Linked DNA regions of Homo sapiens: all the other regions are linked to region 4. Evidence: promoter capture Hi-C in 16 types of primary human blood cells and fetal thymus (Javierre and others, 2016). All regions are on one chromosome and are shown on one strand. The core of a region is centred on a gene start or on the middle of the fragment in contact, and the rest is flanking DNA. Distances in the headings are between cores, read along the strand shown.

What was found. Contacts are between HindIII fragments. The CHiCAGO score rates a contact against its expected background, and 5 or more counts as called.
Region 1: a fragment that was not itself captured here is called in contact with the fragment with the promoter of H2AZ2 in region 4 in 12 of 17 cell types (total CD8 T cells, naive B cells, total B cells and 9 more); the score reaches 10.9 in total CD8 T cells.
Region 2: a fragment that was not itself captured here is called in contact with the fragment with the promoter of H2AZ2 in region 4 in 1 of 17 cell types (monocytes); the score reaches 7.5 in monocytes.
Region 3: a contact is called between the fragment with the promoter of RAMP3 here and the fragment with the promoter of H2AZ2 in region 4, in 12 of 17 cell types (erythroblasts, total B cells, non-activated CD4 T cells and 9 more). The highest score is 8.6, in erythroblasts.

What each region holds. Positions count from the first base shown.
Region 1 is chr7:44,557,172-44,560,243 of GRCh38, forward strand. No RefSeq gene overlaps it. Among named protein-coding and RNA genes, the nearest start is that of DDX56, 15 kb to the right of the region's middle. The HindIII fragment of the contact is 4,749 bases long and covers 1-3,072 here.
Region 2 is chr7:44,477,791-44,480,763 of GRCh38, forward strand. All of the region lies in intron 2 of NUDCD3 (NudC domain containing 3), which reads right to left. Among named protein-coding and RNA genes, the nearest start is that of NUDCD3, 11 kb to the right of the region's middle. The HindIII fragment of the contact is 6,664 bases long and covers 1-2,973 here.
Region 3 is chr7:45,156,036-45,159,177 of GRCh38, forward strand. RAMP3 (receptor activity modifying protein 3) reads left to right here and starts at 1,756. Exons shown (of 3, transcript NM_005856.3): 1 at 1,756-1,851. The coding sequence starts at 1,794. The HindIII fragment of the contact is 23,160 bases long and covers 1-2,485 here.
Region 4 is chr7:44,846,313-44,849,757 of GRCh38, forward strand. It overlaps H2AZ2 (H2A.Z variant histone 2), which reads right to left and starts at 1,775. Exons shown (of 5, transcript NM_012412.5): 1 at 1,657-1,775. The coding sequence starts at 1,659. It overlaps H2AZ2-DT (H2AZ2 divergent transcript), which reads left to right and starts at 2,159. Exons shown (of 2, transcript NR_187581.1): 1 at 2,159-2,209; 2 at 3,147-3,253. RefSeq lists enhancers at 1,358-1,915, 1,916-2,474 and silencers at 1,401-1,790, 2,051-2,110. The HindIII fragment of the contact is 6,622 bases long and covers 1-3,445 here.

The DNA of each region.
Region 1 (3,072 bases), core at 101-2,600, 290 kb before region 4:
TGTCCTTATGGCAGAACAACTTACATTCCTTTGGGTATATACCCAGTAATGGGATTGCTGGGTCGAATGGTAGTTCTGCCTTTAGGTCTCTGAGGAATTGCCACGCTGCTTTCCACAATGGTTGACCTAATTTACACTCCCACCAACACTGTACAAGTGTTCCCTTTTCTCTATGACCTTGCCAGCATGTTATTTTTTCTTTTTTTTACTTTTTAATAATAGCCATTCTGGCTGATGTGAGATGGTATCTCATTGTGGTTTTGATTTCTGTTTCTTTAATGATCAGTGATATTGAGTTTTTTTTCAAATGTTTGTTGGTTGCATGTATGTCTTCTTTCGAAAAGTGTCTAGGAATGAGATACTGTCACCACTTCTATTCAACATAGTGTTAAAAGTTCTAACCAGAGCAATTTGGCAAAAATGAAATGAAAAGAAAAGAGAAAAGAGAGAAAGAGAGAGAGAGAAAGAGAGGGAGAGAGGGAGGGAGGGAAAAGGGAAGGGGAAGGGAAAGGGGAAGGGGAGGGAGGAAGGAAAAGAGTGTCCAAATTAGAAAAAAATTAAACTTATCTCTATTTGCAGATAGATTTTATATTCTAAAACAGTAAATACGCCACTGAAAATGTATTATAACTTGTCTGAGTGTGGTGGAGCATGCCTATAATCCCAGCACTTTGGGAGACTGAGGCAGGACAATCACTTGAGCCCAGGAGTTTAAGACCAGCCTGGGCAACAACGTGAGACCCCATCTCTACAAAAAATAAAATAATTAGCCAGGCATGCTGGCATGCCTGTAGTCCCAGCTATTCAGGAGGCTGAGGCAGGAGGACTGTTTGAGTCCTGGCAATGGAGACTGCAGTGAGCTATAACCGTGCCACTGCACTCCAGCCTAGACAACAGGGTGAGACCCTATCTTGAAAATTTTTTTTAATAAAAAAAATTACTAGAACTAATAAATGAACTTGGCAAAATTATAGGATACAAAATCAATACACAAAAATCAGATGCATTTCCTTCCTTCCTTTCCTTTCCCTCCCTCCCTCCCTCTCTCTCTCTCTCTCTTTTTCTTTCTTTTCTTCTTTCTTTCTTCCTATCTGTCTTTTTTCTTTTTGAGACAGGGTCTCACTTTTTCACCCAGGCTGGAGTGCAGTGACACGATCATCACTAACTGCAGCCTTGACCTCCCAGGCTCAAGCAGTTCTCCCACCGTAGCCTTCGGAGTAGCTAGGAGGGACTACAGGTGCTCATCACCATGCCTAGCTAATCTTCCCCCTCCCTCCTTCTCCTCCCCCCTCCCCCCTCCCCCCTCCCCTCCCCTCCCCTCTCCTTTCCTTTCCTTGACAGGGTCTTGATCTGTCGCCCAGGCTGGAGTGCAATGGCGTGACTCAGCTCACTGCAACTTACGCCTCCCCAGTTCTAAGTGATTCCCTTGCCTCAGCCTCCCGAGTAAGTAGAATTACAGGTGTGCCACCATGCCCAGCTAATTTTATATTTTTAGTAGAGACAGGGTTTCACCATGTTGGCCAGGCTGGTCTCGAACTCCTGACCTCAGGTGATCCACCCGCCTTAGCCTCCCAAAGTGCTGGGATTACAGGCGTGAGCCACTGCACCCAGCCCCTGGCTAATTTTTTTAATTTTTATTTTTAGAGATGGCATTTCACTGTGTTGCCCAGGCTGGTCTTGAACTCCTGGCCTCAAGTGATCCTCACTCTTCAGCCTCCTGAATTGCTGGGATTATAAGTGAGGGCCACCATGCCTGACTTTAGCACCACTTATCTTGACACATGAAAAAGATAAACCATTCTGTTCCCACTGTTCCTGCCATCTGGTGGTCTCTTACTTGCAGCTGTATACACTCCTAACTGATGTACCTGTAATTCCCTGCTGTCCACCACCTGACTATTAGCACCCCTTCTCCTACTGTTGCCCCACAGCAGAGTCCTCAACCTCAACACTACGGACATTTTCAACCACAGAACTCTCTTGTGGGGGCTGCCTTGTACATTGCATGATTTTAACAGTATCCCCGGCCTCTTCCCACCTAAAGCCAGTAGCATCCATTGCCCAGATATGATAACCTAAAATGTTTCTTGGCTGGCACAGTGGCTCACACCTGTAATCCCAGCACTTTGGGAGGCTGAGGCGGGCAGATCACTTGAGGTTAGGAGTTCATGACCAGCCTGGCCAACATGGTGAAACCCCATCTCCTAAAAATACAAAGATTAGCTGGGTGTGGTGGCACATGCCTGTAGTCCCAACTACTTGGCAGGCTGAGGCAGGAGAATCACTTGAACCCGGGAGGTGGATGGAGGTTGTAGTGAGCCAAGAACACACCACTGCACTCCAGCCTGGGCAACGGAGCAAGACTCTGTCTCAAAAAAAAAAAAACAACAATATTTCTATACTTTCCCAAAAGCCCCACTGGGGCAAATCTGGCCAAGAACCACCACCCTGCAGGAAGCCTGTGCTAAGCCAACTAATCTGCTCCCTCCACCCAGCTCTGCTATAACCAAGCCAAGCCTGTCTCTCAGGCTTCTCCGGGCCTTCCCAACGCCTGCGCATACAATCTCCTTGGCAGTGAGGATTTCTACCACCACCCAGGCCTGAGTGGTCTCTCCCTCCTCTGGCCATGATAGCAGGGGTTGGCTGTCTCCCTTGGCACTTGGCCTAACCATCACTGCATTCATGCATTTTGCTTCTAAAAGCTGAGGTCCTGGTTCCCGGGGCGGGGGCCATACCTCCTACACCAAGAATCCTTGAACCTATAGGGGTCCAATTTGTACATTTCGGTGATTGTATTAGGTACTTCGCTTCACGAATACAGCTGCAGTCAGGACCCGTTGCTGTCAAAGCCATAGACTCAGGACTGTGTGACCCTCCATCTCCCCACTGCTGGAACAGCCACAAGCAGTTCAGGAGCCTGGTCCCCCAGCCCACTGCTGAGGAGAAGGGCGTGTTGGTCCATGGAGGGGATGAGGCAGGCTGAATCTATAAAGGGTCGGGGGGTCCCAAGTACTTCCTGAGGGCTCCCTGAATGGGAGGATGGGCAGCTCTGCCCTGACTGTTGCTCCCAGC
Region 2 (2,973 bases), core at 216-2,715, 370 kb before region 4:
ACTTTTTACAAAGTCTTTACTATGAACAATTCTTTTTTTTTTTTTTTTTTTTTTTTTAGATGGAGTCTCGCTCTGCTCTGTCGCCCAGGCTGGAGTGCAGTGGCACAATCTCAACTCACTGCAACCTCCACCTCCCGGGTTCATGCAATTCTGCTGCCTCAGCCTCCTGTGTAGCTGAGATTACAGGCACGCACCACCACACCTGGTTAATTTTTTGTATTTTTATAGAGACAGAGTTTCACCATGTTGGTGAGGCTTGTCTCAAACTCCTGACTTCAAATGATCAGCCGGCCTCGGCCTCTAACAGTGCTGAGATTACAGGCATGAGCCACCACACCCAGCCTGAACAACTATTAAAATTGTAAAGCATCCTTACAGAATATAAGCACATTCTCTGATGCTATCTTGTGCAAATAGGGAAATATCTGTGTGCAAATTCTCTCTCTTCTCTGAGGAATAAGATGGGTTATTTACTTTGGGCCGGGCGCGGTGGCTCACGCCTGTAATTCCAGCACTTTGGGAGACCGAGATGGGTGGATCACCCAAGGTCAGGAGTTTCAGACCAGTATGGCCAACATGGTGAAACCCTGTCTCTACTAAAAAAATACAAAAATTAGCCAGGCATGGTGGCAGGCACCTGCACTCCCAGCTACTTGCAAGGCTAAGGCAGGAGAATCGCTTGAACCTGGGAGGTGGAAGTTGCAGTAAGCCGAGATCATGCCATTGCACTCCAGCCTGGGCAACAAGAGCAAAACTCCGTCTAAAAAAAGAAAAAGATAGGTTCCTTTAAGCCCTGGGGTGGGGGCATTTCTGATCTTCATTTGACATGCCCTGGCAGCAACAGTAGGGCAGAAACAAGAATGAAATTCAGACCAATTGTAGGTTATTAGTCAGGGAGATGCTAAAATCAGAGTGATGGTAAAATTAGGTCAAAATAAAATTTCCCCCAAATCACCCCAAAAATACTATAAATGAAACCTGTACATTATTATGTATAAATAACAATGTATGCTGCAACAGCTTTAGGGCAGAACACAGGCACAAGGTTGCCAGGATCTGGGAGTCTGGCACCAATGGAAATGTCATTGTATTAGTCCATTCTCATGCTGCTATAAGGACATACCCAAGATGGGGTAATTTATAAAGAAAAGAGGTTTAATTGACTCGCAGTTCAGCATGGCTGGGGAGGCCTCAGAAAACTTACAATCATGACAGAAGGGGAAGTAAACACATCCTTCTTCACATACCAGCAGGAAGACGTGCCAAGCAAAGCGGGAAAAGTCCCTTATAAAACCGTCTATGAGAACTCACTATCACGAGAACCACATGGATATAACTGCCCCCATGATTCACTGCCTCCCACCGGGTCCCTCCCATGACATGTGAGGATTATGGGAACTGCAATTCAAGATGAGATTTGGGTGGGGACACAGCCAAACCATACTGGTCATCTATCTTGACTGTGGTGGTTACAAGACTACATTTGTCCAAAGTCATAAACTGTATTCTAAAAGGAATGAATTGTATTGTTACATAAATTATACTTTACTAAAACACAAAACAATTGTCTGTATACAGTAATGAACACCTTACAACAAAAATGCATATATAGAGGCAGGAGGAGTACTTGAGCCCAGAAGTTCGAGTTCAGCCTGAAAAACACAGCAAGATCCTGTCTCTAAAAAAATAAAATTCAAAATACATATATACAAAATATAAATACATTATTTTTAATCTTGTTTCTTTCTTTCCCAGCACTTACACTGAATTTATTTAAATTAAATAAGCATGTGATGTGACTTTACTGTAGTATACAAAAAGGGAGTTTTTGCCTAATACTGGTTAGAACCGAAAAACATGTCAAGTAAGAGTCATCAGATATCAGCAATCTAAGACTTAGATTCTCAGATTTTAGACAGAGTGCTCACAAAAGATGGTGCTTCTGTGTGGTCTTCTACAGAATAACTACCTTAAATTACTCAATTAAAAGAACTGCAGATCTATAATTTATAGGATAAACCATCCTGAACACTGGTGGGAGGACTTGGGGTGCAGCTAAAGGTAGAACAAGGAAAAGGATGGTCTTTCACATTCTATTTTCAAATCTGCTAAAACACTACATTTCAGGTATAACTAGAGATCGGTGCCACAACTTCCTGTTTTGTTCAAGGAAAACAAGTAACTGAAGCTGAGAATGTTCCAGTCCTTGGAAAGGTTTGATTAGGATTCTTGCGGTACCAGTCTATTCTGAACAAAGAGCTACCAAGTAGAAAGGTTAGCTTTCCTGAAACATATCCAAGTCTTCACTCTATACTTATTTTTAAGGTAGAACTCACAAAACTAACTCTAATTCTAACCCAGAACAAAATTCACTGGTTCAAGAATTTTAAAATAGGGTCTCTACAAAACAACAAAGTAGCTATTCTAGTCTATTACTCAGAAATCAAAACCAATACCCTCCTTTCATTTTTTAGAGATCATAAAAGGAATACAAAAAAATTAATAAAACAAAATAAATGGTCATTACAGAAAAATTAGAAAATATAGTAAGGGACAAAGATAAAAATGAAGAACACTCACAATTCCACCACTCTGTGATTACTACTACTATTTTCTTCCAGCTTTTTTTCTACATACATAATTTTTAAAGTTTTCAAATTTGATATTAGACTATATAGTTTGAATTCTCCCCTTCTCACTTAACATTATATCATGAAAATATCTGTATAAGTCAAGGTTCCACCAAAGAAACAGAAGCAGCAGATATAGTCAGCCCTCGCTATCCATGGGTTCCATAGCCCAAATCAAAATATTCCCAAAAAATATTTACCAAAATATTTGCTGAGGATCAAAAATATTCCCAAAAAATGGCCAGGCATGGTGCCTCACACCTATAATCCCAGCACTTTACGAGGCTGAGGCGAGTGGATCACTTGAGCTCACCAGTTCGACACCAGCCTGGGCAACATGGTA
Region 3 (3,142 bases), core at 506-3,005, 310 kb after region 4:
TCCTACTGTTCCAGCCTGCAAGCTATGTGCAACCGCCTTTGGGGCTGTGGGACCGAGTGGAGACTAAGACTCTCCTGGAGAGAGCTGTAGGGCCGAGTCTGTGTGGGATGTGGGTGGACACCTGGGCCTGGACCATCCTCTTGGTTTGTCTTGGCTGGTGTAGGGTGTGCGTGTGTGTAAGCCAGCCCCCTGCTGCCCTGGTCAGCTTGTTTTATGACCCCTGGCCTGTGGGCAGAAGGCCTGGCTGTGGGCACCATCAGTCTCACTAGAGGCTCTGTGGCCACCCCTACACCTGCTGCCCACCCCTCAGGCAGAAGGCAGGACAAATGATCAATTTTAATTAGTTTTGACTCCTTTGAATTAATTCTGGCTGTAATCAGAATTTCTTCAGTAAAAAAGCACAGAAAGTTCTTCTCCCGAATAAGGGTCTTGTTAAATAAAGTGGGTCTTTCTAAGCCAGGAGAAGTTCAGCTCAGCTCCTGGGAAGGTAGCAGTACCTACGGCTCAGAGGAGTGGAGGGCCCATCCATGTAGGAGCCTGGGCCTGTGCCCCAACCTCAGACCAGCATGTGCCCCCAGGGGTGGTGGGTGGGCCCTGGAGGGCAGAGAGGTGCCTCTAGCTGGCTCTCGGAAGTCCTGACCAGTGACAATTCTTAAGACACCATTAAGTGTCCACTGGAGCCAGGGCCTGTGCTAGGGGCTGAGGGTGACAGAGGTGACCCATCTGGCCAAGTGACCTGTGGCTGGAGAAACTGAGGCCCTCCTTCGCCTCAGGGACCCTGACACTCTTCAAGGCCAGGTCTTTGGTGGTGCCAGATACTCTCCTGTCCCTTGGTTTGCTTGTGGCTTGGTTCTTGGTGTGTGATACGTCTCTGTGTGTGTAGTTGCCACACCCTCCAGTCTCTCTCATACACACTGTTTCCCAAGCATACACTCACAAACACACCTTGTCTCAGACTCAAACACACACATGCCACACACACACCATACATCACACACTCCATGCACACACATGCATCTACACACACCCCACATGCACATCACACACACGTACTCCATGAACAACACACACACGCACACACACAGACGCACACACACACACCCCCCAACCTCTTTTATGCACTTTCCTGACCTTTGGAGACCTGGCTCCTAGATGTATCTCTGCTCAAAGTTCCCCTCCCTGCCTGGGGGCAGCTCTGGACTCTGGTCTACTTTCGGCCAGGGCACACCTAGCCCACTCCCAGGTCCACCTTCCTCCAGTCTACCCCCAGACTCCTCTAGGCCATCATCAGCCAGCGCTTCATCCTCACCTCAGCTCCCTCCCCGGTCTACCCCCACCCTCTGCCCCTGAGCCTGGACGGAAGTTCCCCAAGTCTCTCCAGCCTGCATCCCAGCCCACCGTCAGCCGGCCCCCACGCTCACCCCAGCTCACCTCCCAGTCTGCCCCTACAATCTGCTCCCAAAAAGCTCCTTTGCAGCTCAGCACCCCAGCCCCGCCCTCAGAGCCCATCAGCCGGCACCCCACCTTACCCCAGCTTGTCCCCAGCTCGAAACCCTGCCCTCGCCCCCCTCTCACCCCGCTGAGACTCCAGCCGCCCCCATCCCTCCCACCCGGCGCGCCTGCAGGGACTGCACCCCACATCTGGAGGCAACGGGGCACGGCCGCAGGCGTGGTCTGGGGGTGCGGCCTGAGGGCGGACCCCCTGAGGCCCCGCCCCACCCCAACCCCAACCGGGCGTCCCCCAGCCGCGCCCCCAGCGGGACCGAGCGTGACCCAGCTGCGGCCGGCCAGCCATGGAGACTGGAGCGCTGCGGCGCCCGCAACTTCTCCCGTTGCTGCTGCTGCTCTGCGGTAAGGGGGCGACGGCCCGCACCGGGGGCGCCCCCACTCCTCGGGGTTCACCGGACCCGGGTGGACCCGCGCCTTCCCGCACCTGCGCCGCGGTCCTTCCCTTGCCCCGGAGCTCGGGAGGGGCGCACAGTGACCCTGGCGGGATTCCCAGGCTCTGCGGGAGGGTTCCACCCGGGAGAAGCTGAAGGCGAAGGACTCTGGCGGGCAAGGGAGGCACAGGGCCCCCTCCGGGGTCTTCTGACGGCAGGGTCCGGCAGCCCCCGGTCCTTCTAGTTGTGATGTCCCCCCACGCCCCGGTTCTGGGGTCGCCTCAGGGTGGGCGAGAAGAGGTGGACCAGGTCTGGCTCTTTACCCCTTATCCCCCAGGGTGGGCTGTCTGTAAGGTAGTGAGCTCTCTGTCCTGGCATTGAGTGCCTGCCCACCACTCACAGGGGCGTGGGCGGGTGGACTCCGGACTGGGTAGCTGGTCCTCCCAGGGCCCCTCAGTGTGTGGACGCCTGTGTGTGTCCTGGAACTGGCTGAGAGGGGAAGCGGGGCGACTCTCTGAGCCATCCTCTCCTAATGCCTTCTTCGGCAAGAAATCAGGACTCTAGGAAGAACCATTGCTCACAAAATGGAAATAGATTAAACTAAAAGCTTGTTTTGAAGTACCTTGCTAAAGAAATTATCCAAGAAAAAGTAAGAGAGAGAGAGAGAGAGAGAATGTGTGTAAAGGCTGTTGGGGAAGAGTGCTTGCTGAGGGCTGGGGTCCACTGAGTGGTGACTGAGCCTGGCCAGTTCTGGGGGGGACATTGGTGATGGAGGGCCCTGGCCTGGTGGTCCCCAGTTTCCCTGGCTGTAAGATGCAGAGTTGGGCCTGTTTTGATGATTTGGGATTTGGTACGGGAGGTGGGAAAAGGGTGGACCAAACTCAGTGGTCATTTTCCTTCCATTGAAGAGGTCTTGGTGTGCAGAACTTGTGTGGCTTCATTTGGTGTTCCAGGGCTGGAGCCTAGGATGTGGTGGATTTTGTGTTGAAGTGCAAAGGTGGATGGCAGCTTCTGAAATCAGGAGCATGCTGATTTGGGATTTCAGCAAACTTCCAGTGAGCGCCCCTTAGGTGGAGATCTTGGTCGCTATAGTGGAAGGAAGGTCCTCTCAATTCATTCTGGGAGAAGCTGAGGCTTTCCTGATCATCTCCAGTATCAAATTGAGAAGGACCACAGGCTTCCGCCTGCACAGAATCCCCCCTTAATAATCCTGTCTCTCGTGGACCCAGTTCCTGAGGGCCACTTCTTTGTCCTGTTGTGTT
Region 4 (3,445 bases), core at 525-3,024:
AAAATATCTGAAAAACTAGAATTGGCCGTGCGCGGTGGCTCACGCCTGTAATCCCAGCACTTTGTCAGGCCGAGGGGGGCGGATCACAAGGTCAAGAGATCGAGACCATCCTGGCCAACATGGTGAAACCCAATCTCTACTAAAAATACAAAAAATTAGCAGGGCGTGGTGGCGCACGCCTGTAGCTATTCGGGAGGCTGAGGCAGGAGCATCGCTTGAACCCGGGAGGCGGAGGTTGCAGTGAGTGAAGATCGCCCATTGCACTCCAGCCTGGCAACAGAGTGAGACTCCGTCTCAAAAAAAAAAACCACAAAAAACCACAAAAAACAAACAACAAAAAACCAAAAAAAAAAAAAACCACAAAAAACTAGAATCATGAAAATCATCTGTTTGAGCAAATCCTTTTACAGATTAGATGTAAGCTGTACCTCAGTTTGATAAAGTACTATAAAGTACTTTACAATAACAATAAACTATACGTGAGACGTTGGAAGCAATTATCCCTAAAGTCTATTCCAGCTCTAAGATTTGGGTTTTTTACAATAACAATAAACTATACGTTAGACGTTGGAAGCAATTATCCCTAAAGTCTATTCCAGCTCTAAGATTTGGGTATTTTACAATAACCAAACATTGTCCTCTCGACTGGCCAATCTGTTTACAGTTAGGTGTTATGTCTATTCAATACCATATCTGTCACATCAAGCACAAGACAAATCATCTAATACTATCTGCAGTATGATAAATGACAGCTTGGTGCTAACTTTTAAGCAGGTAGCTCCCGTTGAAGTAACCTTTCAACAGAATGCTTAAAGCACGAATACCGGCAAAAATAAGATTCCATAACAGTCTTATTATTTTTACACAATCTTTGATGCAACTCAGAGCGTATCCTTTAGCACCTTCTCTTTTCCCCTCAACTTTAAAATGGGGCTGAAGTTCTATTCACTTTCATTTTTTTAAAGCCACACTCTTCTTATCTAGATCTGAATTTCAGAATGAAAAGATGAATACTTTAAGACTGAAAATCCATAGCAAGGGCAAAGGAAAGTACTGTTGTATAATGAAAACCGCAAACTGCAAGGGGCTCAGAAGATAACGGGCGTTCATTTCTAACCTGTGCAATCACCTAGAACAAATCGTGTGGTTCTGGTCTATAAAACCATTCTTTGTCGCTCAAAAGACCACAAATACAAGCACCCTTTCGCAGAAACCCTCAAACTGACTGCCAGGGAGATTACGTAACCAAACATCGCCAAAGACTTATCTAACTTGTACAGCGGCAGCCTGTTTGACCTCATTCATACAGAGAAGCGATCACATTAAGATCCAGCACTTGTTTCTACATTTCCAAGCCGGATTCTGCCGTCCTCCTCCTTCTAAGACGGGCGGTGCAGCGTCACAAGCGTCGGGACAGATCTATCCGGCTCGGAACAGACTTCGCGCTCTACCCGGCCAGGCCCAGCTCTCACCCGGGGACCCGTGTCGGGCTCCGCAGCTGGGACATGGCGCCCCCCGGCGGGCGGCGAGGGGCTCGGCCGGACGAAGCCCAGACACCCGCAAACTCCCGACTCCACAGGTAGCGGCGCCGACGCCAGGGCCTCCGCGCTCTGCTCTCCCAGGCCCCGTGCCCCCGGCCCACCCGGCCGCCCTTACCATGTTCTCGGCGCCGACTCCGCCTCCGCTCGGCCGCGCGCCCTCCCGCTGCCGACCCGCGCCGCCGCCGCCGCTCTCGCAGCACCGACCGCCGCCGCCGGAGCCGGACAATACCCCGTGCCCGCCTCGCGCTGCTGTGGCCAATGCCCGCTTGTCTTGCTGGTTCGAACCCCAGCGGCTGTTCAATCGCGCGCCTCCTTCTAGCCAGACCCCGCCCCCCCGGCACCGCCTTCCTAACGGCTGTTTGTTTTTGCACACGGCACGCGGAGGCGGGGCCTCCAGCCCCAATAGTGACGCGCTCTCTGCCTTTCACCAGGCGCCCAAGCCTGACGAACAGAAAGGCAAACCAATGAGATTGGACGCCTCGCAGACGAAAGCCAATAAAAATATCGCCCGCGAGCAAGGGAGGCGGGCCACTGGGAAGGACAGCAAAATTAGCTAATAAGGTGAAGCGATTGCAGGCGCTGTGGCTTTCCCGCCCATTCGCGGCGTTGGTTTTCCCGCTTCTGAGACTTGTTTGGGGAGGTAAAGAGTGTTGGACGTGCTTCTCCTGGTGGGTTTTCACAGACTGTGAGGATTTATTCGTCTTAGAACGTGTGGATCAGGAGGGCGCTGGGTTTCAAGGTTAGGCAGGCCTCATGCTCAGCCGTATTCTGGCGGACTGACTACCCTGACGTCCTCTCAGCGCGGACCCTGACAAGGTCCGCGGCAGGCTGAGGCGGGAGAATCGCTTGAACCCCGGAGGCGGAGGTTGCAGTGAGCCGAGATCGCGCCACTGCACTCCAGCTGGGCGACGCATCGTCTCAAAACAAACAAACAAAAACAAAAGCTATCAATTGGCTACATATTGTTATTTGTATGACAAATTCTTTTTCCTTTTTTAGAGATGGAGTCCTGGGACTACAGGCGCGCGCCCCAATGCCCAGCTAACTTTTGTATTTTTAATAGAGACGGGGTTTCTCCGTGTTGGTCAGGCTGGTCTCGAACTCCTGACCTCAGGTGATCTGCCCCCCTTTGCCTCCCAAAGTACTGGGATTACAGGCGTGAGCCACCGCGCCCGGCATGTATTACAAATTCTAAGAACACGAAGATAATGGGGCCGGCTTGGTGGCGCGAACCTGTAGCCTCACCTACTGTCAAGACTGAGACAGGAGGATCTCTTGAGCCCAGGAGGTCGAGGCTGCAGTGAGTCATGATCGCACCACTGCACTCCAGCTTGGGAGACAGAATATACCCTGTCTAAAAAATAATAATAAAAAAAAAGGTAATGGATGAGGCCGATAGTCAGGAATGAAATGACTTTAAACAATTGGGTATGCATGGGATTGGGTATGTGTGTATGTGGGGGCAGAGGGTGGGCATAACCGAAGTCCCATACTCATGTCCCTCTAGGCCTAATACATTTTGCAGACCTCACAGAGCTCAGACTGTTGTGAGCCGTTTTTCTTTTCTCAACCTCTTCAGTGTGTTTATTTTGCTTACATCATTAGGTTAAAATTTGGAGGATAACTCCCAGCTAGAAAGGAAGAAAAGCTCTAAAGTGGAATCGCCTTCCCCCGGAAGCTGTTGTAAAAATTAAAGGATGTATGTGAGTGCACAGGCTCTCCAGCGATCGTTTTTCTTCCACAGTGTTAACACAATTTATTTATTTATTTACTTTTTGAGATGAAGTCTCACTCTGTTGCCCAGGCTGGATGGAGTGCAGTGGTGTGATCTGGGCTCACTGCAACCTCCGCCTCCTGAGTTCAAGCGATTCTCCTGCCTCAGCCTCCTGGGTAGCTGGGACTAA